Regions from separate parts of the Homo sapiens genome. Here all the other regions are linked to region 5. Evidence: promoter capture Hi-C in 16 types of primary human blood cells and fetal thymus (Javierre and others, 2016). All regions are on one chromosome and are shown on one strand. The core of a region is centred on a gene start or on the middle of the fragment in contact, and the rest is flanking DNA. Distances in the headings are between cores, read along the strand shown. Region 1 overlaps MYH14 (myosin heavy chain 14). Region 2 overlaps MYH14 (myosin heavy chain 14). Region 3 holds the start of POLD1 (DNA polymerase delta 1, catalytic subunit). Region 4 overlaps NAPSA (napsin A aspartic peptidase). Region 5 holds the start of CLEC11A (C-type lectin domain containing 11A).

Evidence for each region. Contacts are between HindIII fragments. The CHiCAGO score rates a contact against its expected background, and 5 or more counts as called.
Region 1: a contact is called between a fragment that was not itself captured here and the fragment with the promoter of CLEC11A in region 5, in 1 of 17 cell types (naive B cells). The highest score is 5.4, in naive B cells.
Region 2: a contact is called between a fragment that was not itself captured here and the fragment with the promoter of CLEC11A in region 5, in 5 of 17 cell types (naive B cells, total B cells, activated CD4 T cells and 2 more). The highest score is 8.9, in naive B cells.
Region 3: the fragment with the promoter of POLD1 here is called in contact with the fragment with the promoter of CLEC11A in region 5 in 3 of 17 cell types (naive CD4 T cells, activated CD4 T cells and naive CD8 T cells); the score reaches 5.7 in naive CD4 T cells.
Region 4: a fragment that was not itself captured here is called in contact with the fragment with the promoter of CLEC11A in region 5 in 7 of 17 cell types (fetal thymus, naive B cells, naive CD4 T cells and 4 more); the score reaches 9.9 in fetal thymus.

What each region holds. Positions count from the first base shown.
Region 1 is chr19:50,248,183-50,252,355 of GRCh38, reverse strand. MYH14 (myosin heavy chain 14) reads right to left here. Exons shown (of 43, transcript NM_001145809.2): 13 at 3,217-3,369; 14 at 2,533-2,706; 15 at 1,668-1,841. Among named protein-coding and RNA genes, the nearest start is that of MYH14, 47 kb to the right of the region's middle. The HindIII fragment of the contact is 982 bases long and covers 1,194-2,175 here.
Region 2 is chr19:50,280,144-50,284,536 of GRCh38, reverse strand. MYH14 (myosin heavy chain 14) reads right to left here. Exons shown (of 43, transcript NM_001145809.2): 32 at 4,154-4,306; 33 at 2,695-2,943. Among named protein-coding and RNA genes, the nearest start is that of KCNC3, 47 kb to the left of the region's middle. The HindIII fragment of the contact is 2,331 bases long and covers 1,502-3,832 here.
Region 3 is chr19:50,383,045-50,387,420 of GRCh38, reverse strand. POLD1 (DNA polymerase delta 1, catalytic subunit) reads right to left here and starts at 3,074. Exons shown (of 27, transcript NM_002691.4): 1 at 3,031-3,074. NR1H2 (nuclear receptor subfamily 1 group H member 2) reads right to left here. Exons shown (of 10, transcript NM_007121.7): 10 at 4,033-4,376. RefSeq lists an enhancer at 1,840-2,341 and silencers at 3,061-3,150, 3,181-3,300, 3,311-3,410. The HindIII fragment of the contact is 22,211 bases long and covers 1-4,376 here.
Region 4 is chr19:50,358,712-50,363,198 of GRCh38, reverse strand. NAPSA (napsin A aspartic peptidase) reads left to right here. Exons shown (of 9, transcript NM_004851.3): 2 at 886-1,027; 3 at 1,107-1,230; 4 at 1,418-1,536; 5 at 2,059-2,258; 6 at 3,337-3,459; 7 at 3,552-3,696; 8 at 4,090-4,188; 9 at 4,419-4,487. All of the region lies in intron 3 of LOC105372437 (a long non-coding RNA gene), which reads right to left. Among named protein-coding and RNA genes, the nearest start is that of NAPSA, 4.7 kb to the left of the region's middle. The HindIII fragment of the contact is 5,380 bases long and covers 1-4,487 here.
Region 5 is chr19:50,721,441-50,725,504 of GRCh38, reverse strand. It overlaps CLEC11A (C-type lectin domain containing 11A), which reads right to left and starts at 2,141. Exons shown (of 4, transcript NM_002975.3): 1 at 1,833-2,141; 2 at 1,414-1,600; 3 at 904-1,095; 4 at 1-483. The coding sequence starts at 1,979. The coding sequence ends at 38. RefSeq lists silencers at 573-632, 673-792. The HindIII fragment of the contact is 4,317 bases long and covers 1-3,626 here.

The DNA of each region.
Region 1 (4,173 bases), core at 435-2,934, 470 kb after region 5:
AAACATGCGAGCTTACTCCCACCTCGGGGTTTTACCCCTGCGGTTCCTGCCACCTGGGGTTCTGTCTCTGTGGGTTTCACACCACTGGCTCCTTCTGGGTACTCAGGGCTTTGCTGTGGGGCTCCATAGAGTCACGATCTTGGCCGCTACAATTCTCTGCATATGTGCCCCCCACCAGACAGCGGTCCCCCGAGGGCAGGGCCCAGGTCTGACTCACGGCCTAGCAGAGGGCTGGGTACAGGGGGAGTTCTGGAGTATGTCTGGGGAAGAAACTGAGGGCTAGACACAGAACACATGGAATCTCCTGCCTCCCAGCCATTGTCTATGCTGTTCCCTCTGCCTGGAGAGCCCTTCCCACCCTTCACCCATCCTCTGGGGCTGCCTGGTCCACATCATCAAAACCAGGGGTCAGCAAACTATGGCTCACAGGCAAAATCCAGCCTGCCACCTCTTTTTGCAAATACTTTCACTGGAATAGGGCTGGGCGCGGTGGCTCACACCTGTAATCCCAGCACTTTGGGAGGCCTATGCGGGTGGATCAACTGAGGTCAGGAGTTCGAGAGCAGCCTGGCCAACATGGTGAAACCCTGTCTCTACTAAAAATACAAAAATTAGCCAGGCATGGTGGCAGGTGCCTGTAATCCCAGCTACTGGGGAGGCTGAGGCAGAAGAATTGCTTGAACCTAGGAGGCGGAGATTGCAGTGAGCCGAGATCGTGCCACTGCACTCCAGCCTGGGTAACAGAGGGAGACTCTGTCTCAAATAAAAAAAAATACATATATATATGTGTGTGTGTGTGTGTGTGTGTGTGTGTGTGTGTGTGTGTGTGTGTGTAGTGTGTATATATATATGTGTGTATATATATATGTGTGTATATATATATGTGTATATATATATAGGAATAGAACCTTCATTTATGTCTTCATAGTCAAACTCATGGGGGCCCTTCTGGGGGCAAGAGAGCCCTCGAAACTGTTTCTCAGTCTGTTTTTCCTTTCTTTTTCCCTGGGGGCTTGAAGATACTTATGTATTATCTGTGGCTCTTTTTGTGTGACCACAGCAGAATTGTGTAGCTGTGACAGAGATCGTCTGGCCCACAAAGCTGAAACTATTTACTATCGGACCCTTTACAGAAAATGTTTGCCGGCCCTTGACTGAGATTTGAGATTGAGCATATTCTCTTCTGTGAAGCTTTCCCAGGTACTTCTCTTCTGGGCTCTGACACTACCCTCAGCTGCCTCCACTGAAAGACCTATTAACCTTATATCCTGATCGTCTGTATTTGCCTCCCTCCCAGATAGGGATCTTTGTGAGGACAGAAACCATGTTTGATCTGTGTATCCAGCTTTGCTCGGCCCCGAGCTGGGCACACAAATGGCACCCCGCACATATCTGCTGAATAAGTGGATAAAATGCACATAGATCGCCTCCTGATGAACTCCTACCCATCCCTCAAAACCCACTGCAAATATCACCTCTTTGAGGAAGTTTTTGGTGATCCCATCAGACAGAATCCTTGCTCCTCCCTGGGCTCTCCTAGCCCCTGCTCTGTTTGTCTGGACCTCAGGAGGACCCTGTTTTCCCTCTGCACCCTCCCCCCATCTGTAGCCAGTGGAGATCCCTTGATCCCCACTCCCACATGCCCCAAGGCCGGCCCCAGCCCCTACCTTGCCCGCGTAGTGGAGAACACTGAAGTCGGCCTGATCCCGCAGGTGCCTCGGCCGCTGGAACTTGGGGTGGCCGCCCTGCTCCTGGGCTACCTTCTCCACAAACGACTTGTCTGTGGCCTTCGGGAACCAGCACTCCTCATCCAGCAGGGCCAGGAGTCCAGGGGGGTTGGCCTGGCCATTGACAGCAGGGGGAGAGTAAGTCAGATCCCCACATATTGGACACTCAGGTGGCTGCTGATTTTTAGCTCTTATAAGTCACACTTGGACATAAAAACAAACGTGAGATGCCAGGCACGGTGGCTCACGCCTGTAATCCCAGCACTTTGGGAGGCCGAGGCGGGTAGATCACGAGGTCAGGAGATCGAGACCATCCTGGCTAACACAGTGAAACCCCCGACTCTACTAAAAATACAAAAAATTAGCCGGGCGTGGTGGCGGGCACCTGTAGTCCCAGCTACTCGGGAGGCTGAGGCAGGAGAATGGCGTGAACCCAGGGGGCGAAGCTTGCAGTAAGCAGAGATCGCGCCGCTGCACTCCAGCCTGGGCGATAGAGCGAGACTCCGTCTCAAGAAAAAAACAAAACAAAACAAAACAAACAAACAAAAAACAAACGTGAGAACAACAGTTACGGTGAGAGCTCTGATTAACCGATTGATTTGAGCCGGGCCCTGTGGCAGGCACATTCTGGGCCCTAATCACCTATGGTCACAAAAGATCGAGGAAGCAGGTGCTGTCACCTTCCCCACAGAACCCATGGGGCATCCTGAGGCCCAGCAGAGGAGGAGCTAGACCCTGGTCTCGCAGATGCTGGGAGAGACGGATCTGAACCGTGAGTGTGGGCTGGGAGGGGCCTGGGGCTCACCGGCCGCTCGATGAGGTCGATGCAGGGCTGCAGGTCGAGGCCAAAGTCGAGGAAGGTCCAGGGGATGCCCTCACGCTGGTACTCCTCCTGCTCCAGCACGAACATGGTGTGGTTGAAGAGCTGCTGCAGCTTCTCGTTGGTGTAGTTGATGCAGAGCTGCTCGAAGGAGTTCAGCTGCAGGGACGCAGGACACGTGAGCTGGGAGGATGGAGAGGGACAGAGACCCAGAGACAGGGGACAGAGACCCAGAGACAGGGGACAGAGATGCATCGAGAGGGGACAGAGACCCAGAGAGAGGGGGACAGAGACCCAGAGAGAGGGGGACAGAGACCCAGAGACAGGGGACAGAGCCAGAGACAGGGGACAGAGACCCAGAGACAGAGAGGCAGAGACCCAGAGACAGGGGACAGAGATGCAGAGAGAGAGGACAGAGACCCAGAGAGAGAGGGGGACAGAGACCCAGAGACAGGGGACAGAGACCCAGAGAGAGAAGGGGACAGAGACCCAGAGACAGGGGACAGAGACCCAGAGAGAGGGGGACAGAGACCAGAGAGAGGGGGGAACAGAGACTCAGAGAGAGAGAGGGGGACAGAGACCAGGGAGAAGGGGAGAGACCCAGGGCTTCAGAAAGGACCAGGACCGGAGTGAGGAAGTTGGCATCCCCCTCCCAGCACAAGGGTGGACCTGGAAGATCTCAAAGCCCGCGATGTCCAGGATGCCCAGGAAGGAGGCGCCTTGGCGGGGGCTGCGGTCCAAGGCCCGGTTGAGGCGCAGAACCAGCCAGCGGAAGAGGCGCTCGTAGGTGGCCTTGGCCAGGGCCTCCAGCGCGAAGTCAGCCTGTGGGACAGGGCTCATGGTAAGGGCGCAGCCTGCACATCAGCAGACTGAAAGACGTCGGGGGTGAACCGGGGAAGGGCCCCCAGCTCGTCCCCCTTAAGGTCGCCTCCCAGCTCCTTGAGTGTAAGTACCATCAAGAACAATGCCATGAACAACAGGCAGACATTCCTGAAGTCCTACTGCGCACCAGGTACTACATGACGGGCTCGGATGTGTTAGCCCTTGAATCCTTCCCTCACCCCCTCAAAGCAGTTTCTACCGCACAGCGGTTAAGAGCGTGGACTCTGGAGCCGGACAACTTGGGTTTGAATCCCAGCTCTGCCACTTAGGGGCTGTGTGATTTCAGGCATGTGAATAAACCTCTCTGTGCCTCAGTTTTCTCCTCTGTAAAATGGGAACTAACAACAGTACCCCAGCTGAGATTGAACCCGGGTCAGTGTGGCTCCCAGACTCCTCATCTCCCCCACGGGGTCTTCATCCAGGTACCTCACTGCCCAGCCTGGGGCCAGCAGAGGCCTCTGCCCAAAAGCTGGATTCTGAAACCCTCCCTGGCCTGTGGTCGCTCCACTCCACCCTCCCTGCTCATGGTGTGAGCTCCCACGATTGCCAAGACTCTGGATGCAGCCTCCTTAGGTCTCCCCGCCTCTACCTGCATCCCTGAACCCAATTCTCCATGCAGCAGCCAAGGGGATCTTTCTATGAAAGACAAACTGAATCAAGTCACTCCCTGGCTTAAAACCTCAATGGCCTCCTATGTAGTTTGAATAAAACTCACCTCCTTACTGTGGCCCCTAAGACCCTGCA
Region 2 (4,393 bases), core at 1,418-3,917, 440 kb after region 5:
AATTAGCCGGGTGTGGCGGCATGTGCCTGTAATCCCAGCTACTTGGTAGGCTGAGACAGGAGGAATCGCTTGACCCCAGGAGGCAGAGGTTGCAGTAAGCCAAGATCATGCCACTGCACTCCAGCCCGGGCAACAGTGCAAGACTCCGTCTCAAAAAACAAAACAAACAAACAAACAAAAAGAAAACAAGAAAAAAACCAGGATAAAACCTTTGTGACCTTGAGTTAGGCAAAAATTTCTTATATACAATACTAAAAGCACAATCTATAAAACAACAAATTGATAAATTGGACAAAATTAAAAACTTCTGTTCTTTGAAAGACTCTAACAGAATGGAAAGAAAAGCCACAGACTGGACAAAAATATTTGCAAAGCATATATCTGATAAAGAACTTGCATTTAGAATACATAAATAACTTCTTTCTTTTTTTTTGTTTTTTTTTTGTTTTTTGTTTTGTTTTTTTGAGACAGAGTTTCACTCTTGTTGCCCAGGCTGGAGTGCAATGGCATGATCTCGGCTCACCACAACCTCCGCCTCCCAGATTCAAGCGATTCTCCTGCCTCAGCCTCCCAAGTAGCTGGGATTACAGGCATGCACCACCATGCCTACCTAATTTTGTATTTTTAGTAGAGACGGGGTTTCTCCATGTTGGTCAGGCTGGTCTCAAACTCCCAACCTCAGGTGATCTGCCTGCCTTGGCCTCCCAAAGTGCTGGGATTACCAGGCATGAGCCACCGTGCCCGGCCCATAAAGAATTTTCAAAATTCAATAATAGTAAAACAAACAACATTAATTAACAAATAGGCAAAAGATCTGAACAGAAGCTTCAGCAAATAAGATATATGGATGGCAAATAAGCATATGAAAAGATGCTCAACGTCACTGGTCATTAGGGAAATGTTAATTAAAACCACCTTTGAGAAAGACTAAGGTTTTATCCATAACTAGAAAAAAACTGGAAAAAAACCCAAATGTTCATCAAAAGGTTAATGAATATCAAAATGTGGCTGATCTATACCACAGGAATAATATTCAGCAGCAAAAATACATTATTGATACATGGAATACATTATTGATATGCAAAAATATGGATGGATCTCAGACTAATTATTTTGAGGCTGGGTGCGGTAGCTTACTCCTATAATCCCAGCACTTCGGGAGGCCGAGGTGGGTGGATCACTTGAAGCCAGGAGTTCGAGACCAGCCTTGCCAAAATGGTGAAACCTCGTCTCTATTAAAAACACAAAAATTAGCCAGGCATGGTGGTGCACACCTGTAATCCCAGCTACTTGGGAGGCTGAGGCACGAGAATCGCTTGAACCTGAGAGGTGGAGGTTGCAGTGAGCTGAGATCGTGCCACTGCACTCTAGCCTTGGTGACACAGCGAGACTCTGTCTCAAAAAAAAAAAATTATTTTGAGTAAAATAAGCCCATCCCAAAAGAGATTTATGTGAAAATAATTTATATAAAATTCCAGAAGATGCCAAAAATAATAAAGCTTCAATGACCTGTGGAAGAGTATTACAATCAAATCATATGTATTTGGAGTCCAAGAAGAAGGGGAAGGAGAGAGAGTGGGAGATAAAAATATTTGAAGAAATAATGGCTGAAATGTTCCACATTTGATCAAAAACATCAACCCACAGCTACAGGAAGCACAGTGAATCTAAAGCAGGATAAATACAAAAAACCCACAGCTGGGCATATCACAGTCAAACCACTAAGAACCAAACATAAAGAGAGAAATCGTAAGTCAGCTAGAAAAACATACTGCACCACCTACAGGGAAATGACAATTTAAAAAAATTTTTTTTAATTTTTTATTTTTTTTTTGAGATGGAGTCTTGCTCTATCACCCAGGCCGGAGTGCAGTGGCACGATCTTGGCTCACTGCAACCTCCGCCTTTCCAGTTCAAGTGATTCTCCTGCCTCAGCCTCCCGAGTAGCTAGGATTACAGGCGCACACCGCCATGCCCAGCTAATTTTTTTGTATTTTAGTAGAGACGGGGTTTCACCGTGTTGCCCATGCTGGTTGTGAACTCCTGAGCTCAGGCAATCCGCCCGCCTTGGCCTCCCAAAGTGCTGGGATTACAGGCATGAGCCACAGTGCCCAGCTTCACACTGCATTTTCTAAATGAATAAAATAAAGCACAGAGAGGTTGAGCAATTTGCCCAAGCCACACAGCCATCAAGAGGCCGAATTGGGATCTGAACCTCAGGATTGCCTGATCTGAACTCTCTAAGGTTCTGTGATTTTTATTTCATCCTCAGGCTGCCAGATGCTTGGTATTATTGCCATTTTCCAGATGGGCGAACTGAAGCTGAGATGGAAAAAGCAACTTGCCTGAGGTACCCCGTGAATCAGCAGAAGTGAGATGAGTTATTTGATTTAATTCTCATAAGCAATCTCTGGGGTACTGAAGGTATTCGTATATTTTGTCATCCAAAAACCAGGGCAGCTCTGAAAGTAAAAGTGGGTGCTACGAGGAATTATGCTGTGGCAAGAGGCATGAATCAGGACAGAGGGATGTCCTATTTTACAGAGGCCCAGAGCAAAGAAGGGTCTTGCTTCCTGGTCCACTACAACTGCCTAGTTGAGCCGTGACAGCACGGATTACTGGTTCCTCACAACGACCATGGGAAGCGTAGATGGACTTGCTGATTCCCCGGCTGGGTGAACTGAGGTGCCCCACCTGGTCAAACTTGCGCTGCTTCTTCTCCAGGGTGCTCACAAGCTGCCGCTGCTGCTCCAGGTCCATGGTGGCGTCGTCCAGCTCCTGCTGCAGCCGGCGGCGGCCCCGCTCCAGCCGATCCACGGTCTCTGTCTTTTCTGCCAGGCGCTGGGTCAGGGCCTCGGCCTCCCGGGCTGCCCGGCGCCGTGCCTCCTCCCCTGCCTCCAGTGCCCCTGCCTCCTCCTCCTGGCGCCGCCGCCACTCGGAAAGCTGAGGGGAGGAGAGAGAGGGTGGTTGGTGGTCACGGCCATGAGTGACCAAGGTGTAAGCTGGTGGTGCTCCATTTCCAGGATGAAGAGACTGAGGCCTGAAGAGGGAAAGGGGTCATTCTGCTGGGCTCTTCTGCCTCTGAGTGGTGTGAAGTTGTGAATACTATGAGCCCTAGTTCTTCCAGGGAATTAAAATTACTCCCTCCAAGATGCAGAGGTGAATCAGACCTGGAGTCTTTCCTGGGGAGCCCCTCGGCTGCTGGGGGAGACACAGAGTCACAGCCAGGGTGATAGGGGTTAAGGTAGCAGTATGGGAGCTATGGAGGTCCACAGGAAGTGCCCAGAATCTGTTTAGAACATTCAGGAGAAACTTCCTGAAGGAGGAGCATTTGAGATGGGTCTTGAAGTATGCATAGAAGTCTGCCAGTTGAAGGATATCTGCAGGCACGTACCATCACTCATTCATTCAATAGGCATTTCTCAACGCCTACCATACATCAGGCCCTATATCAGGCTGTGCTACAGACCTGGATCTAACTCTGATGGGATTCTAGTTTGAAGGGGCTCTCAGTCTGGTGGGGAGACTCATGGGCAGAGACAGTCCCAGCCCAAGGTGACTGGAGTTGGGACAGAGGAGAAAGAGAAGACGGGTCAGGAAACTTCCCACAGGGGAGCCTAATGCTAAGTCTGGAAAAATAAAAGGTTTTTTTCAAATAAAATAGGAAAGTAGAGATAGAGATGAATACAGCTAAAGGCAGAGGAAGGACCAGAGATTGCAGGGCCTCAATGCCTGACTGAGAGGCATGGACTTTGTCTAGGAGTACTGGGGAGGCGTGGGAGAGCTGTGAGCAGAGGAGGGACAGGGTCAGCTCCAGGTAAAGAAAGAAGCTTCTGGGGCTGTGCAGGGGATGAGCTGTTAGGGGAGAGGCTGGAGGCCCAGAGGCCAAGAGGAGGATCTAGATGGGAGAGGACGGCACTGGAGCTGGGGCTGAGCTGGAGCTGGGACAAGGGATGAGGCTGAGAGTCAGGGGTCAGGACAGCCAGGGCTGGGCATGGGCTGTGGGGGGTAAGGGGGAGTCAGAGATGAGAAAGGCACCCATGGGTCTGGCCTATGAGAAGGTGGGCAGCATGGCCATCCCTGAGCTGGGGAACCCAGGAGGAGCAGTGAGGGGGGCTGTGCCTCCCTGAAGGTCTTACGTAGGGCTGCTCACCTGGGCCTGGGCAGTCTGCAGTTCACGGCCCGCCCGTTCCCTGGCAGCTGCCTCCTCCTCCAGCTGCTCACGCAGCCCGGCTGCCTCAGCCTCCATGGCTCGCACCCGGGACCCCAAGGCCAATTTCGCCCTGGTCTCCTCCTGCAGCAGCTCCTGTAGATGGAGGAGACGGCAATGTCAGGTGTGGCTGGGAGGACAAGGAGGGGAGGGTGACGGTGGAGCCGAAGGGCAGGCAGGGTC
Region 3 (4,376 bases), core at 1,825-4,324, 340 kb after region 5:
CAGAGATTCAGCAACAAAATGACACCACGTGCTCGCTGCAGGCCAGACACCAGTTTTCTCGATGAGTGAGACACTCATTTCCTCAATGACCTCATCCAATCTTGCCCAATCTCACAGCTTTATTTTTATTTATATATTTTTTTGGGAAAGGATCTTGCTCACTGCAACCTCCGCCTCCTGGACTCAAGTGATTCTCCTGCCTCAGCCTCGCAGGTAGCTGGGATTACAGGCGCCCACCATGTCCAGCTAGTTGTGTATTTTTAGTAGAGTTTCACCATGTCTGCCAGACTGGTCTCAAACTCCTCACCTCAAGTGATCCGTCCACCTCGGCCTCCCAAAGTGCTGGGATTACAGGCGCCCACCACCACGCCCGGCTAATTTTTTGTATTTTTAGTAGAGACGGGGTTTCACCGTGTTAGCCAGGATGGTCTTGGTCTCCTGACCTCATGATCTGCCCGCCTCGGCCTCCCAAAGTGCTGGGATTACAGGCCTTAGCCACCGCGCCCGGCCTAGCTTTTGTATTTTTTGTAGAGACAGGGTCTTGCTATGTTGCCCAGGCTCACCTGCATGCTTTCGGCCTTGTCCTTCCCCTAGGCCTCTGTGACTGCTGTCTCTGGACTGCCTGGGTGTGTGTCTTCCTCCCTTACCAGCCAGGGACCTCTGGATGGCAGAGCAAGGACTGACTCTCCTCTGGGACCTTAGCATCACCCAGCACAGGGTGGGCCCCCAGGAGGCCTTAGGCAGTGTTCGCTGCATGAAACTCCACTGCATCCAGAGACTCAGCTCAGGCTTAGCTCCTCCAAGCTGACCAGCTGCCCTTCAGGGTTCCCACAACGCCTTGTGCCACTTTCGTTATTGCACAATGCAGAGCTGGGATCCTTTCAGCCTGTGAGCTCCTTGAGAAAAGGAGTCAGCATCTTGCCCAAGTTGGGGTCTCCAGCATCACTCTGCACAGTGTCCGGTTACTTCAAGACATGAGTTTAGGCCGGGTGTGGTGGCTCACACCTGTAATCCCAGCACTTTGGGAGGCCGAGGTGGGAGGATTACTTGAGGTCAGGGATTCGAGACCAGTCTGGGCAACATGACAAAACCCTGTCTCTACTAAAAATACAAAAATTAGCTGGGCGTGGTGGCACACACCTGTAATCCCAGCTACTCGGAAGCCTGAGGCATGAGAATCGCTTGAACCCGGGAGGTGGAGGTTAGTGAGCCGAGATCGCGCCACTGCACTCCAGCCTGGGCGACAGAGCAAGACCCTGTCTCAAAAACCAAAAAAAAAAAGACATGTGAGTTGAAACTCCCTGTGAATATCAACCACTCTGGTGAGTCTTCCCTGAGCGCACAGGTTCTTCTCTTGGCTCCCAAAGACTATCACTGCTCCGCCATAGCTCAGCGCACTCTGGACTGAAATCTCCTGTCCTTCCCCAACCAAACTGAATGATCATTGGCTCCCCAGTGCTCAGCAGAGGGCCTGTCCAAACAGCAGCTGTCAGAAACACATAAGAGAGGGAAGAGCATTTCAGGGGGAGGGAAGGAACCTCTCTAGGGGGAAGAGAGACCTGTGGGGGGGAAGTGCAGGAAGGAGGAGAAGCGGCCGTGCGTGGTGGCTCACGCCTGTAATCCCAGCACTTTGGGAGGCCGAGGCAAGTGGATCACCTGAGGTCAGGAGTTCGAGACCAGCCTGGCCAACACGGCGAAACCCCATCTCTACTAAAAATACAAAAAATGAGCTGGGCATGGCAGTGGGTGCCGTAATCCCAGCTACTCAGGAGGCTGAGGCACGAGACTCGCCTGAACTCGGGAGGCGGAGGTTGCAATGAGCTGAGTTTGCACCACTGCATTCCAGCCTGGGTGACAGAGCAAGACTCTGTCTCAAAAAAAAAAAAAAAAAAAAGAGAAGACAGTGGCAACAAGTTCCTTCAGTGGAAGGGCTGAGGCGAGGCACTGACATCGCCCTGCCCACTCCTGGCTCCGCTCTAAACCCTGCCCACTCACTCCCCCACTAATCTTTGCCTTCAGAGCGGCAACCCCAACCTGCTTCTCCCTTAGCCTTCCCCATCCAGCCTGCTGCTCAAACCACAAACCCAGGAGTCATCCTGGACTCTTCCCCTTGCTCCTACGCCCAGTCCATCAGCCAGTCCCCCTGTCTCCGCCCGCAAAGGTAACCGGAGCCTGATTCTCTGCCTGCAGGACGCTCTCCCTCCTAACAGATCTCCCTCCTTCCATTCTTATTCCTGCTACAATCCAATTTCCACTCAGTGGTGAGTTTTTCAAAACATGGGGCGAATCGTGTTGTTTCCACGCTCAAACCCTCCCACGGCTCCCCGCTGAACCTAGAATAAAGGAGAAATTCCATACCAAGTTTTACAAGGCCCTATAGGATCTAGTTCCCCATCATGACTCCGACCTCATCTGTGTTTCTCTCGTCCCCTCGGCTCCTGCTACAAATACGCCAAGCTCCTTCCACCTCAGGGCTTTGCACTTGAGGGTCCCAGAGCGGTCGATTCTGGACCACTCCAGCTAAAGCAACAGGCTCTTCGCTCATTATCACGTTACCCTGCGTTAGTTTCCTTCTGAGAGCATCTCACAGCCCCAGAGCACTGCTTTACTGATCTATTAAAACTCATCACTTGTCTACCGTCTGTCTTCCCGAGACAGGGACTTCTCTGACTTGTTCCTGCTTCCAGAAAAGTGCCTGGCACAGAGTACTCAAACACCCAGCGAATCCAGGATGACACCAAGCCCGCACGTGCACCACCCAGTCCCCCCAGCTCCTCCCGGGCCACGTCCCGCCCCACGGTGCCCGGCGCATGCGCCCCCTGCCCGCCGAGGAATTCCACCCCCACCCCGGCCTTTTCCTGCTCGTCCCCGCGCCCTCGCCCAGGAAACCCCTGGCCCCTGCCCTCTCCTGCGCGCCCCCGGGCCAAAGGGTGCCCTCGCAACCGTCTCTCAGATCTATGTGCCTGGCTGCTCAAGCCCCGTTCCCTACCAGGCCCACTGCCCCGAACTCCCTTTTTCCCCTCTACTCACCCGCTTCAAACAGCGTTTCCCGCCACAGCCTACGCCGCCGTGACCCCTGACTCCCGCGCGCGCAAGCCCAGAGCCGCGGCGCTCAGAGACGGGCCACGCCCCCGCCTGCCCAAGTGCGGGCAAGGCCACGCCCCGCTTGTTCGACTGCAGGGCAGGCCCCGCCCCCTCTCTCAGCTTCCGAAGTGGCCTCGCCCCCTTGCTGAAAAATTCCCTTAACTCCGCCTCCCCATGACCTGTCTGCCCGAAGCCACGCCCCTCCGCGCGGCTACCTTCACGACCTCGTGCGGTCTGGGCGCGCCGCGGTTCTGTTCTCTCTCCTCCCACCCTCGGGTGTTGCGCGCGCATCCTCCGCGTCCCCCCGCCCGCCTCTCGCCCGGGGCCGTGTAGGGAGCGCTGCCCCGTCGCTGCCCAGCAGCCAGCTGGTGACCTGACGCCCAAGATCCCCGCAGAGGCTGGCCGATAAGCGGTAGAGTCCTGGCTTGATCTGTTCTCCTTCATCCTAGCTTCAGTTTCCCTATACGTAAATTAGACTCAACAACGCATGATAGGGACACTTGTGGGGCGCCCGGTACACTACTCTTAGGATAAGGTGATCATTGGTAACTACTCTCACTTCCGCTGTTCCCCGCCCCAAATAAATACACCTTTAAGTTGCATCCCTCCATCCAACCCCCCTTTCGCCCTCGATTGGAATTGCTCATTCAGCTCCTTCAGGGCTGGCACAGGGGCAGGAAGGATTGGAGGAACTTCGTCGCTTCGCTCCGAACTCCTGGCGTCTCTCCTTTCAAACTTTGCACGTGCTGTTCCCTCAACTTGGAGGCCCAGCCCCCAGGCTCTTGTTTTAGGTCCCAGCGATTGCCTCTGTTGTGATACCTTCCCTGATTTCCTCTAGCCCCACCACAGTGCCACGCTCATTAAAGTCCCTATCCCCCGAGTCTTGGTAGGAGGATGGTTATCTTGTTCACAGATGTTTCCAGTGCCTAGAATTGTGCCTAACTGTAGTTAATGCTCTGGAAACATTTATTGGGTGAATGTCTCCATCTCTAGAATGGCCAACCCAGTGCCTGGCCCACAGGAGGCCTCAGCAAACACTTGTTGTTCGGACAGAAGTCCAGGTCCCCTCATTCACTTAAATCCTGTTTATCCTTCAAGGGTGAGTTCTGATTCACCTTGTCCAGGGAGGTGACCCTGAGGCTGAGGCCTCTGTCCTGAACTTTCACAGCAGGCGACACACCACCCAACACTGGGACCCTATGTGCCACCCTTTTCCCAACAGCCTGGGGACACCCAGTCCCACCTGCTCAATCAGGTTCGGGCACCCAGTGTCACTGAGGTCCCTAGAAGCC
Region 4 (4,487 bases), core at 836-3,335, 360 kb after region 5:
CCTCTCAAAGACTGACTCATGGGGGGTGACGGGAAAGGTGTGAGTGATGTGACAAGTGCTTCAAGGAGTGACTAAAGGCAGGAACGAAGATATTACCGCACATGGTGCTTGTTAACCTGCTTTTTGAACCTAATGTCTCATGGCCATTTTCTAAGTCAATGCAAAGAAAATGAGTCTCCAAATGTTGTATCAACAGCATCGTCATGACCTGGGAACTTGTTAGAAATCCAAATTCTCGGCTCCATCCTAGACCTACTTAATTAGCAACTAAGATACCTGAATTGTAATTGGCCCTCTAAGTCAAGGGTTGCAAACACTCAGCTTAAGGGCCAAATCCTGTTTGCCTCCTGCTTTTGCAAATACAGTTTAAAGGAACCCGGACAGGGCATAGTGGCTCTCCTCTGTAATCCCAGCACTTTAGGAGGCTGAGGCCAGGAGTTTGAGATCAGCACGGGCAACACAGCAAGACAATTAAGATTTGACGCTTACATTTTTCTCCTCAAGGGTGGGGAAAATAGTCCCTAACCTCACGAACTGAAGCATGCAGGGGCCACCACCCAAGGGCTTTTGCAAAGGTTAGGTTTTCTGTTAGGGTCTTGGGAAATCTTTAAGAATGTCAATTCCTTGGGAATAGCTTATTTTAAGGGATTTGGACATGGAAAGGTCTGTTTGGGATGGTTTGCTCTTGTAAAGTCTTTGGGGATATTTGTCATCATGGCATCTTTGATGGGCTTTTCTGGAGGTTGTTATTGCAGGGTTTCTGGTACTGACTACTATTGTAGTGCCTTGGAGATGTTGAATTTGTCATCATATCCTATTTGGGTAAGTCTATTTAGAGGTTCTCCAAGAAGGGCAGCTTCCTGTCAATATCCTCTTTCCCTACAGCATCCCTCTTCATCGAGTCCAACCTGGACGCAGGATCCTGAACCTACTGAGGGGATGGAGAGAACCAGCAGAGCTCCCCAAGTTGGGGGCCCCATCCCCTGGGGACAAGCCCATCTTCGTACCTCTCTCGAACTACAGGGATGTGAGTCACAGCCCCACACAGCCCTCACCCCTGCGCCCTTGAGCCAAACTCTTCGTTTACTCTCCTCTTTTGCTATCAGGTGCAGTATTTTGGGGAAATTGGGCTGGGAACGCCTCCACAAAACTTCACTGTTGCCTTTGACACTGGCTCCTCCAATCTCTGGGTCCCGTCCAGGAGATGCCACTTCTTCAGTGTGCCCTGCTGTGAGCTTCTATGTGGGAGAATAAGGCTGAATGGGGGTGAAGGGAGGAGGCGGGGCTGGACCTCAGCTTCTCAGAGGCTTTTGAGGAACTGTTCTTTTATCATGCCCTCACAGGTCAGAAAGTCAAAGGGGCAGTAGGCACTGGGGAGATTCCCTCCCCCATGACACCTTTCTGACCTCTAACCTAGGGTTACACCACCGATTTGATCCCAAAGCCTCTAGCTCCTTCCAGGCCAATGGGACCAAGTTTGCCATTCAATATGGAACTGGGCGGGTAGATGGAATCCTGAGCGAGGACAAGCTGACTGTGAGTGGCCTTTGACTCTCAGAAGTCTTGAGCCTGGGAGAACCCCATTGTCTAAGATCATCTGGCTTAGGAAGAGGCTCGAGGAGGAGCTTCCCAAGCCAATGGATGGGGCTTTTCAAGTGGGGAGGAGGGCCTGCCTTTCAGAGTGAAGGGATGGTGCGTCACAAGGAGGGGGAGGGGCTTCCTGGGTGAAGAGGTGGGGCTTCTCAAGCAGGGGGGAGGAGCTTCCAAGGTTAAGAGGTGGGGCTTCTCAAGCAGGGAGGAGGAGCTTCCTGGGTGAAGAGGTGGGGCTTCTCAAGCAGGGGAGGAGCTTCCTGGGTGAAGAGGTGGGGCTTCTCAAGGAGAAGAAAGGGGTTCCTGGGTGAAGGGGTGGGGCTTCTCAAGAGGCATAGTTTCCTAGGAAGTTGGGGCTTGCATCCAGAAGTCCCCAGACCTAGGATTCATGCCTTGGTTTGGGAGACCTCAGGACATGTGGTTATTGTCCTCCCAAAAGTAACTGGTCACATCTCAATCTACCCCTAGATTGGTGGAATCAAGGGTGCATCAGTGATTTTCGGGGAGGCTCTCTGGGAGCCCAGCCTGGTCTTCGCTTTTGCCCATTTTGATGGGATATTGGGCCTCGGTTTTCCCATTCTGTCTGTGGAAGGAGTTCGGCCCCCGATGGATGTACTGGTGGAGCAGGGGCTATTGGATAAGCCTGTCTTCTCCTTTTACCTCAACAGGTACTGGGAAGTGTGCACCTATCTATGAGTCCTATCCCCAAGAAGGAAGAGAGTCTTCCTTCAGGAAGTCACTGACCCAATGCAGGAATTCTCATTCTCAGAGTCACCCACTTACACTGTCCATTCAGGAAGTCAGCCATTCAATACAAGAAGTTGCATCCTCCATGCAGGAAGTCACCTGCCCTATAAAGAAACACCTCAACCCTATTCGAAGTCCCAGAGCTTAAATGACAACTTAAGACATACTAAGGAAACCCACCATCAGTTCAGAATGCTCCATGTTTCAAAATCAAACTAGGAAATTCCATGCCCCACCCAACAAAATACTCAGGAGCTTTCTCTTCCTCACAAAGAATGCTCAAATCCCATTTGAGAACACTGACCAGAAGTCAGGAATTGCCCGATTTAATCCAGGAAGTCCCACTCACCTGCTAGGAAGTTCAGTATTATGCTCAGAAGTCCCACCCAACATCCAAGAAGTTTCCAAGAAGTCTCCACTTTCCCTCCCAGAGGCCTGTCACACACAGTCAGAAAATCCTATGCCCACTCAGTTACCCTGACATCCAACCCACTCTAGCAGTTCTACCAACCACCTAGCAGATCCTGCTCTCCTCCACCTTCCAGGAAGTCTCCATCCCTGTTCCCATCGCTCTCAGCCAACTCAGGAAGTCTAACACCTCTCTAGATATCACAACAGGCAATTCAGAAATTCTCTTCTCCTACTCAGGAAGCCACCCCACCCCTGCACAAGTCACACCTTCAAGAGCCAATTCCAAGACACCACTGCTCTACTTGGTTACTATGATATTCAGCTCAGGAAATTCCCCAAAACTCTACCTTCCACAGCCAAATGAAGTCTCGTCTTCACTTCAGGAAGTTCTAGCTTCCACCAAGAAAAGCATCATGCTTTTCTTGCCCGGCTTCCAGTCCCAACATCTAGGCCCTTCCTGCATCCCATTACCCCGTAGGAACTCCAGAAACAACCCAGTTGGTGGGAAGTGCCATTCCTGGCAATACCTAGGGCTGAGGGAGGGCCAGTGACACTGACATCTACACTCTCTACACTCTGCCCCTGCAGGGACCCTGAAGAGCCTGATGGAGGAGAGCTGGTCCTGGGGGGCTCGGACCCGGCACACTACATCCCACCCCTCACCTTCGTGCCAGTCACGGTCCCTGCCTACTGGCAGATCCACATGGAGCGGTGAGGGACTTGGTCTCCTGGCTCTGGAGCTGGAGGCTGGGGGCCTGGACTCCTAGGACCCTGCCTCTGATGACTGCCTCCTTCCCCCTCAGTGTGAAGGTGGGCCCAGGGCTGACTCTCTGTGCCAAGGGCTGTGCTGCCATCCTGGATACGGGCACGTCCCTCATCACAGGACCCACTGAGGAGATCCGGGCCCTGCATGCAGCCATTGGGGGAATCCCCTTGCTGGCTGGGGAGGTGAGGTCCCAGTCTGGTGGGTACGGGCTGGGAAGGCTGATGGCAGTTTGACAGTGAACATCAAAGGGCCTGAGGGTGGGAGGCAAGTATTTAAGGGGCTTTCCAGGGCAGCAGGCACTGGACTTCGTGACAGATAGTCTGGAGGGTGGTGGAGGAATTGAGGACACTTTCCACGTGTCTACACTGCGACTCTGCGGATGGTGGCCGGGTGGAGGGAGACGATCATGCAGGTTTGCTTGGGACTGCGTAAGTCTAGGCGGCAGGGCCTCTGCACACAGGACGCTGAGTACCCAGGTGCTCAATAGGGAAATTACCCTATGGCACTGGGGAGCCACGGAAGGGACTGAACAGAGCAGGAATCTCTCATCTTCACTAGTTCCTCTTCTCCCCCAGTACATCATCCTGTGCTCGGAAATCCCAAAGCTCCCCGCAGTCTCCTTCCTTCTTGGGGGGGTCTGGTTTAACCTCACGGCCCATGATTACGTCATCCAGGTAGGTGGCCATCACCATGACGCCATAGTGACGTCATATGACGGTTTGAGAGGGTAGAGCTGAGAGACGTCACTAGGAAGGGAAGGGGCCACAGAAACATTTCTTTTCCCTGTGATGGCAGTTTGTTGGCGAACATCAAAGAACCCGAGGGTGGGGGGGATGGACGGGCTCCCAGGCAAATGGCCGTCCTTGTGGCCGCGACACCCAGTTGTCGTCTTGTTGCCTTGCAGACTACTCGAAATGGCGTCCGCCTCTGCTTGTCCGGTTTCCAGGCCCTGGATGTCCCTCCGCCTGCAGGG
Region 5 (4,064 bases), core at 892-3,391:
GTGGTGGGATGGGCAGGGAGGCGGGGTACCGGCCCCGCTAGAAGGGGAACTCGCAGACGTAGTAGAGACGCCGCTGGCAGTCGTGGTCCCACCAGGAGCCGTCGTCAGAGGCCTGCGCCACGCAGTTCTCGAGCGTGCCACCGTTGGGCTGGTCCGGGCTGAGCGGATGCGGCGAGGCGCTGGGCTGGGCGCCGAGCTCGGGGCGGGGTGAGCGATGCCAGGCGAAGAAGGACACGCGCTGGCCGTTTTCGAAGAGGTAGAGGCCCTCGGCGCGCCGATCGTGCACGCCCAGCCACACGGGCCAGTTGTAGGGAGCGAGCGCCGCGCGCAGGTACCGAGTGAGCGCCTCCATCTGCTGGCGGTCTGCCGGCTGCGCCAGGCTCCCGCCCCGCGCCGTGCACCGCGCCTGCGCCGCCGCCTGAGCTTCGAAGTCGCGCGAGAGCAGGAAGCACTTGTGGCCCAGGCGCAGCCCCTTCAGGCAGCCTGTGGGCGGGGCCGGGTAGAGAAGGAGGCGGGGTCATGCATTCAGAGTCTGGAAGGGGGCGAGGACAAAACATCCGGGGGTGGAGGGAGGCGGGGCCAGGAACTCATGGGGAGGGCTGGGAGGAGGCGTGGTCAGAACCGCGGGAGCCAGGAGGTGGAGAGTCTGGTCCGCCAGGGGCGGGGCCAGGCGGTGGGAGCTGGACTGTAGGGGGCGTGGTGCTGCCCCAGTCGGGTCCGCGCGGGTCTGGAGTGCCCACCCGCTCCCTGCATTCAGCCTCCCAGCTCTCTAACCCCGTCCGCTAGCACACAGCAGCTCTCCCGAACTCTCCCGCCCCGGACACCTAGGGTCACCTTCTCAACCAGTCCCATTCCTGGCCCAGATAGTCTCATTTTTTTCCACCCCGCGCGCCGCGGACTCACCCTCCAAGCGGCCGTGCTCGCGCTCGGCGCGACCCTGCGCCTCCTGCAGGGCTTGCACGGCATCGCGGGTGTCGCCTGCCGCGTTCCGCAGCTGCCGCAGCCCCTGGGTCAGCTCGACCACGCGGGTGTCCAACGCGTGCAGACGGACGTGCAGCTGGTGCAGGCCTGCGTCCAGGCCGGCCAGGCGGCCCACTGCGGACAGACAGGGATCATGCTGGAGGGGGAGCCTGGAGATGCAGCGGGGGGCCTGAGGACCTGGAGAACTGGGATCTAGGGCTCCTGAGGGCGGGGTGGCGGTGGGGGGGGCACCCCGGACTCCTGGAAGGTAGGGTCGAGTGGCCCAGGCCTTTAGGAGGCATGGCCGTGGACCTGGGGCTCCTAGGGGTGTGGGGGCTCTGGGCTGGGCAATGGACAACTGAAAGGCCACTTGGCAGTGAACCGACCCTTCATTTTTGCGAAAGTGACCGCGGCGGCCTAGGAGTTTGGGGGTGAGGGCTTCTGGTTACTCACGGATGTAAGTGACGATGTCCTCAGGGGTGGGAGAGGGGCTGGGGCCGGAGGATGGGGTTGGCGTTGCTTCCTCCTCCTCTTCCTCCCCCTGGTCCTCCTCCATCTCCCAGTCCTCTTTTCCCTCAACAGTTCCGGCAGGATTCTCATCCCCCCTCCCAGCAGGCAGTCCTAGGGCTTCCTGCAGATGCTGGGGCAGGGGAGGGGTGGTGAGCCCCAGCCTGCCACCAAGATGCCCCATTCACCCCTTTCCAACTCATAACTCATTCTCTGCTGCCTGAGTCCTGTCTCTGAGCCCATCACCCTCCCACTCCTCTGAGACTATCCCAATCGCTCCTCATTGTCCATTTCCCTAACCTTGCAATACCCCCTCCCAGACCCACAGTTCACCACCCATAGCTCCCTGACACTCCAGAGCTCACCTTCAGCATCAGGGCCTCCCTCTCCCGCTCCTCCTCCTGGGCACCTCCCCAGCCTCCCTCCCACTCCCTCTCTGCTCCCCGAGCCCCATGGCCAAAGCCCAAGAGCTGGGGGACCACCAAAGCCCCCAAAAGCCAGGCTGCCTGCATTAAGCTGGACTCTTGGCACCCAAAGTTCCAGATGTCTGGATGTCTGGGGTGGGAGGGGTGGCCTCTGGGAACTGCCGAGTGCCCCTGCCCTGTGTGCAGGTCACTAGCCCCCAGGTTCCCGATTCTCCCAGCTTCTCTCTTCCTGTTCCTCTCCTCGTCTCTGTCCGGTCCGTTGGTCTCCTCTGCTTCTCTGTGTGTGTCTCTCCCCGCCCCTCTTGGCTCCCCGGAGGCCCTGCCTCTGTGGCCGGAAACCTCCAACGTTCCAAAGCCTAGATCCCGCCTTGGGTCTCCTCGCACACCCTCCTCTTTCCACTTTCCAGAGCTCGCTTCCGCCCTGCTCTTTCCTTCTGCTGTAGCCCAAAGATCAGATAATCAGGAAGAGGATGGAGCTGGCTCTCCAAGGAATCTTGGAAAACACAGGCCCCGGCCTCAGCCCAGGAACCCGCTCAGAACCATCTCGGCAGTGGTGGGATGCTGGGACCGAGCACTGCTCCCTTCTTCCCTGCCTGGCCATTCCTAAGGAGGGGCAGACCTCAGGGTCTCGCTGAGGTTGTTATTACCCTGTGGCCACCATCGCCTGCACACTCAATGGAGGAGACTCCAGGGCCCCTCCTGCCCCCTAGATTGCCCATCCTACCCTCCAAGCCCTTGTCTGGAGATCCAAGTGAGTGTGTGTGGGGGCAGGGTGACACATGTGAAGAGCACGCGTGTGACTGTGTGCATGACCCTGGAAGACGGGGCTCGGGGATTAATTGGCCACTTTACTAGAAGCCTCCTGCAGGCCAGGCTGTGGGCTGGGTGATGCTGGGGACTCCAGCTGCTTGCAGACCAGCAGCCAGATAGCTCCGGGGATGAGGGGGCTGGAGATGGGAGAGGGTGAGGAGTCTGGCGGAGCAGTCAGGGAAGGTTTCTCCAGGAGGTGAAATCGACAGACGCTAGGTTGTGTGCTCAAGGAGCTCTGAGCATTCAGCAAGCCACCTCATTTCAGCCTGGACCACTGCAGTCTCGCCCTCCCCCTCCTTCCTCCTGAGCCCCTCCAATCCCGGCTGCTTGCCGCAGCCAAAGCAATCCTTCCAAACCATAAATCAGATCACATCACTCCCCACTCCCCTGCTCCCCCACCTTCCCATCATAAGCAGGAGGGAAGCCAAGCCCGGGCCTCAGTCCTCAGCGCAGCCTACCATGCTGGGGGCTGGGAAGGAAGAACCCTTTGCACCTCTGCAGCCTCATCACCCCCATTCCCTTCACCCACCCCCAGCCTCCACCTTCCCTGGCCTCTTGGCTCATCCCCAAATACTAAGCTGATTACAACCTCAGAGCATTTGCACTAGCCCTTTCCTCCTTCTAGAAGCCTCTTTCCCCAGCTCCTTCTCATCATCGAGGTCTCAGCTCCAGGAGGTCTTCCCCAACCACCTTATCTATTCCGCAAGTTACTTTATTAAAATGCCCCATTTCATCTTTTTGGTATAATCAAGACTGGCATGATCTTGTTTGTTTATGTCTGTTCCCTGCCAATGAAAGCAGGGATTTTTATGCACTGATGCATCTCCTAGCACAAGGCCTACCTAGCACATAGTAGGTGTTCAATCAACCTGTTGAGTGGGCGAGAGGGTAGCCGTTCCTGGTGGGGTCAAAGGCCTGGAAGCTTCACCTCTTTGGTTTGCTGGCACCCAAGTTCCCAGGGTGGTGGTGGCAGGGTAGGTAGAGGTGGTGAGGGCAGTGGGAGAGAGGCTTGGAGGCAAGGAAGAACAATGCCATGCCATGCCCCTCTATGTCAGGCCCATGAGTCATGCAGGGCTTTTCCCGCCCAGGCCTGGCTGGTGGTGCCAACAAGCATGGGGCACACCAGCCAAGGATCACTGGGCCTGCTCTTCAAAGGAGGAGACCGAGGCTCTGAAACAGCATAGCCTGCTGGAGGTCACCAGTGTGGCGGCAGCTAGCCAAGGTTTCTGGCTCCAAGAGCAGGGCATCTGCCCTCGGCTGCCGGGAGCCCCAGGAGGGGCCTTGGAAATCAGTGCCTCCAGCCTTCCGTTTTCCAAGAAATCCTGGTACATCGAGGGCACTGTGACCTTGGGCAGACTGCTC